2 separate regions of the Homo sapiens genome follow, and region 1 is linked to region 2. The links are contacts of gene promoters, found by promoter capture Hi-C in blood cells and fetal thymus (Javierre and others, 2016). All regions are on one chromosome and are shown on one strand. Each heading gives the region's core, a stretch centred on a gene start or on the middle of the fragment in contact. The rest is flanking DNA. Distances are from core to core; before and after follow the strand shown.

Evidence for each region. Contacts are between HindIII fragments. The CHiCAGO score rates a contact against its expected background, and 5 or more counts as called.
Region 1: a fragment that was not itself captured here is called in contact with the fragment with the promoter of OSR1 in region 2 in 1 of 17 cell types (activated CD4 T cells); the score reaches 7.4 in activated CD4 T cells.

Annotation. Positions count from the first base shown.
Region 1 is chr2:17,760,372-17,763,071 of GRCh38, forward strand. It overlaps GEN1 (GEN1 Holliday junction 5' flap endonuclease), which reads left to right. Exons shown (of 14, transcript NM_001130009.3): 3 at 1,025-1,211. Among named protein-coding and RNA genes, the nearest start is that of GEN1, 7.6 kb to the left of the region's middle. The HindIII fragment of the contact is 904 bases long and covers 896-1,799 here.
Region 2 is chr2:19,357,324-19,360,198 of GRCh38, forward strand. It overlaps OSR1 (odd-skipped related transcription factor 1), which reads right to left and starts at 1,300. Exons shown (of 3, transcript NM_145260.3): 1 at 1,018-1,300. RefSeq lists an enhancer at 644-1,172. The HindIII fragment of the contact is 8,359 bases long and covers 1-2,875 here.

The DNA of each region.
Region 1 (2,700 bases), core at 98-2,597, 1.6 Mb before region 2:
GACATTTTCTCCCTATTTTACTTCTCTCCACATCTAATCCGTCAGTAAGTCTTGCCAGTTCTACCTCCAAAATATACTTTGTGTTCACAAACTTATCTCAGTGTCCAGAGGCACCACCTCAGTCTATGCCAACCTCATCTCTCATCTATACTCCTGAAGTGCCATCTTCACTAGTTTCTTGCTCTTGGCCTCCCCTACCCCAGACTATTTTCCACATAGCAATTAGAATAATCATAAATCTTTCTTGCTTAAAAATATTCAGTGGTTTGGCCGCGTGCAGTGGCTCACGCCTGTAATCCCAGCACTTTGGGAGGCCGAGGCAGGTGGATCACAAAGTCAGGAGTTTGAGACCAGCCTGGCCAAGATGGAGAAACCCCATCTCTACTAAAAATAAAAAAAAATTAGCTGGGTGTGGTGGCAGATGCCTGTAATCCCAGCTACTTGGGATGCTGAGGCAGGAAAATCACTTGAACCTGGGAGGTGGAGGTTGCAGTGAGCCGAGATCACACCACTGCACTCCAGCCTGGGCAACAGAGTGAGACTCCACCTCAAAAAAAAAAAAAAAATCAGTGGTTTTGGCCGGGCACAGTGGCTCACACTTGTATTCCTAGCACTTTGCGAGGCTGAGATGGGCGGATTATTTGAGCTCAGGAGTTCAAGACCAGCCTGGGCAACATGGTGAAACCCCATCTCTACAAAAAATACAGAAAATTAGCCGGGCATGGTGGCACACACCTGTAGTCCCAGCTGCTTGGGGACTGAGGCAGGAAGATCACTTGAGCCAGGAGATTGAGGCTGCACTGAGACAAGATCATGCCACTGCACTCCAGCCTGGGTGACAGAGTGAGACTCTGTCAAAGAAAAAGAAAATTCAGTGGTTTTCCACTCTAATTAAAGCTTAAGTAAAATGTTATTACATTAACGTTTTTGATACTAGTCTAATGTTCTTGCCTTTGTGTTATACTATTTTGACTTTTACTATCAGTGTTTGATGATTAATGTATTACTAATTTATATATTTCAGGAACTTATTTTTTCGTATCTCATATTTAACACAAATGGATGTAAAACTGGTATTTGTTATGGAAGGGGAACCACCAAAGCTGAAAGCTGATGTCATAAGCAAGAGGAATCAGTCTCGGTATGGGTCTTCTGGAAAATCGTGGTCTCAGAAAACAGGGAGATCACATTTTAAATCAGTCTTAAGAGAGGTGAGCATTCAGATTTGATTCAGTAATTCCGATTTGAATTAAAGGGTGCATTTTACTCTTAATAGTTTGTCATCTTTAATACTTATTAATTTTATTGTGACTAGCAGGGATGTGCCTAGAGAAAAGAGTTTATTTTTTAGAGTGAAATTGACCTGAGTTTCATTCTTGGCACTGGTATGTAGAAACTCTGAGACACTGAGCAAAATTTGTAACCTATCTCTACCTTGTATGTTACCTTGTGAAATGACAACAGTAATACTCAGCAGGGATGTGATAAAAATAAGAGAAAGTATATCTAAAGCAACTAGTACATGGTAGGAACTTGATCATATTACCTTTTATAACACCTTCAGGACTTAAAGAAGTCCCAGAATACATGAGATCTCATTAATTCGTACTTCACTCATTCAGAATTCATGATAGTTCATATACAGAATATATATTTGGCTTCCCTTAGGGCTTGTAATTTTAAAAACTGTCGTTACATTATAATATATTATTTATATGTTACTTTAATATTGCTATATTTTATATTTGTATGAAACTTAAGAAAGAAATCATCTATAGTATATAATTAAAACAATAGGAAGCTTTTTTTTTTCTGTTTTCTTTTTTTGGTTGTTTTTTTTTTTTTTTTGAGATGGAGTCTCGCTCTGTCACCCAGGCTGGAGTGCAGTGGCGCAATCTCGGCTCACTGCAAGCTCCGCCTCCTGGGTTCTCACCATTTTCCTGCCTCAGCCTCCCGAGTAGCTGGGACTACAGGCGCCCGCCACCACACCTGGCTAAGTTTTTTTTGTTTTTTTTTTAGTAGAGACAGGGTTTCACTGTGTTAGCCAGAATGGTCTCGATCTCCTGACTTCGTGATCCGCCTGCCTCGGCCTCCTGAAGTGCTGGGATTACAGGTGTGAGCCCCTGTGCCTGGCCTTTTTTGTCTGTTTTCAAATGTGTGTATTTTTAAAGAGTTGTAGTAGTACACATGATTTTTAACCTAGCCTTTTCACTTAATGCTTCATGTTGTCATATTTCCCTTTTGTCACATTCTAATCAAAATCATAACTTGTAGTGGTTGTGCAACATGTATGAAGCTATGAATCATACCCCTGATTGTATATGTTATTTACTTTTTTAGTTTTTCTCTACTATACATGGAAGTGTGATTAACATTTTTTGTGTATATAATGTTTTCTTGTGATTTGAAATTTTAGATAAAATTACCCAATGTTGGATTGATGGGTCAAAGTTTTGGAATGATTTTATTGCTCTTGCTGATTAATTTCTGCTAATGCAGATGTCAGAGAAGCAGTGTCGGTGCACTCACAAGAACATTGGATGTTAGGAGGCTTGTCTTTGTAATATTTAGTGTGCAACAACAAAGATATTTAATATGCATTTGTCTTTTAATAGTAATGTTAAACATTTCATCTATTTTTAGTCTCCCTTTGGGTAATGGCTATCATCATGTCCTTTACCTACTTACCTCTTGAGGTTT
Region 2 (2,875 bases), core at 50-2,549:
GCAGCTCTTAGCCTGGGTGAAATTTACCAAATTGTGGCAACAAAGAAACCCTTGCGGCTACTTTACACATTGAGAACCCAACCCGCTACTGCCTGAGCTGCTGAAAAAGGACTAAACGTGGTTTTTCATTCTTCTCCGAGACATTTCCGAGGAGAAATTAGTTCAGCAGGCAGCCCTTCACCCCTTTCCCCCTTCTTTCTCTCCTGACGGCTGGATTAGCGGACAGTCAGGGGAGTAACAGAACTTTTCCTGTCCCCAGCCCGGAGACCCTAGGGCTCCACAGAGTTTCCACTAGTGCTGTGTGTGGGTCTCGAATTGGAAAGCAGTGCTTGCGCCCACTGCATTGCCTCCCTGCACCAGGACAATCAAGGGTTCCGCTCCAGGCCTTGACGACACAGAGCAATCATCCTATGGAGAATATCCCTAAGTTAGAGCGCGAGTGCAAGGCGGGGTTCAGACTCGCAGCCCTGCGCTCTCGGGTCTAGGCGGCCTCATACTAGAGCGCAACTCCTCAAAAGACAAACTTGAACGAAAGCGCTACCGAGCTGGGGCATGCACCTGTCCCTGGCGCGGTCGGCTGCGGCTGTGGCCATTCACTCCCTCTCCCTTCCTTCTTCGTCAACCTGGGCGTCAGCCAGAGCTAGGAGCGCGTCTCAGGAAAGTTTGTGCCCGCTGAAGTTGCTCTGGTTTCTTAAAGGGGGCCCACAGATTGACTTTCAAAGTCCGTGGGCACCTCGCCCGTGATTCCGCAGAGCCGGGCGGGCTGGCCGCAGTAGCGGAGGCCCGCCCCCCTTAATCCCCAGCGGTCAGAGGCCGAGGACCCCGCGCAGGAAGTCCTGAGGCAGCACCCCCAACCACCCTGCTCTCACTTTCACAAAAGTCCTACAGCATTCGTTTGGCAAGAGCTTCCTTCAGGGGCATTGAGAGAGAGGAGGCACCCGCCGAGCAGTGACAAGGAACCTGGGAGTCCTGCCCGCATTCGCTTTGCTGAGCCCAGGCGCCCAGGACTGCAATTACCTTGTTCCGCAGAGGTCCTGGGGCTGAGCACGTCTCTGGGGCTTTAGCTGAAGGGGACTGGGGAAGCCGGAGGCCCTGGAGCCCACAGGCGCCCCTGGAGCTCTAGTGTCCCGACTCCTCTCCTGCCGCGGGGACTCCAAGCGCCGGACACGCGGGAGCGAGCGCTCAGCAGCCCCGGATCCTGCACGCCGGGGACGGTGAGCCTCGCTCGCGGCTCCCTCGCTGGGTCTGAACCAGGAGCAGCTGAGAACGTGCCGGGGAGAGGCCGAGCTCCGACTCACTCATCCCTTAGCACCGAGCCGCCTACTTATTTTAATCCACCACCCTCCCTCCTCCACCACCCCCACCCCCGCCCCTTGCCTCAGGATTCCTCCCCTCCCTCCCCTGCCCCCCAACCCTGCCCTGCGCCTGCGCAATGAAAGACAAAGTTTTTGCTGACCCGGGCAGCAGACTTTGGCAGCTGCTCTCGCTTGGACCCGGCCTCTCCCAACCTGCGTCCCCTCCTCTTCAGTCCCGCGCGACCCCTGCTGCCTTTTTAGGTCCAGAGCGGCACGCCTGGCGCACTGGAGGAAACGGTCCCTAGCAGATGAGAGCGGGCTGGCACCGCACGTTTCGAGGTCCTATACTTGGGCTCCTAGGACACAGCCCGTGCTCTTTGGGAGGAGGGAGGGAGGGGCAGTAGCTCTGTGCACCGGGATCCCCACACCGCGGCTTGGGTTTCAACGCACTTTGGCGCCTGACAGAGTCGCATCTCCTCCCAGAATCTCTTTCCAGAGGCGGCAGACCCCGAGTGTGGAGCAGCTCCTGGCTATCCAAGCGTGCTCGGGGCCAGGGTGTTAACCCAGGCAGCGCTGGTTAATTCCTGGTGCGGGAGGGCCAGGGTCACCGAAGCAAGCGAGCTGTAACATCTGAGTGCTTATGGTTGACCCCAGACCCTAAGTTCTGGAGTCCAGTAGAAAGAACAAAGAGTAGGGAAAGGAGGTCAGGAAAGTTATTTTCCTGGGGCCCAGAACTCTCTGAGATTTCACCCCAATGCACAGTGGCACTCTCTACTTACATATTTGTTTTAGGATGGATCAGAGTTTAGAGAGCCGCACTGGCAAGCTAGACGAGCTGCAAAGTTGTCAGTTCCAGGGCCTCTGAGTCAAGGAGCTGGTTCAGGTGGAGTTTTTAATCGGAAAGGAATCAGAGTTCTGGACATTAAAAATTCTATCTTCATTGCCTAGGCATTATGGAGGGTACCATCACCCCCTTGACTACCCATCTCTGAAAGCTGACCTCCGGCTGACCCCAGCCCAATCCCTCCCTAATGCCTTTCTGGAATACCCTTCCAGGCCTTGGGTTTGGCAAGGAGGAGTCACTGGTTTCCTGGGACTTGTGTGGGTCCAGATCACACAACTGCACTCTCTGCCTTTGCCCCAGAGTTGCTGCTGAGTGACTCTTGGAGCTGGATCCTAGATTCCGTGGGTCCCTAAGTACTGTACTGCTTCTCTCCCGAGGAGCTTCTGCTATCTCCAGCTTTGGTTTGCAAAGCTAATCTGATTTTCTTGGGAGGTGAAGAAGGTTGTAATACCTGACCTAGGGAGATGGTAATGAAGACTCCCCTCCCTCAAAGGCATAGTTGAAAGAGGATTTCCTTATATCCCCAGGCCTTTAGAACAGAATCTAGCCTCTAACCCCTGGGTAACTTCGTCTTGTTTGAGGAGGAGTAAGAGGGGGTGCAATCTTTGCTCCAACGAACAGCTTTTACCCAGTGCCTCAGGTTAGTGCAGAAGTAAGAGATTCACATAAGTTTGTCCATGCTCCTGGAATCTTAGCAGTTGCTAGGATGTAGTGACATTCTTGCTAGAGTAAGAAC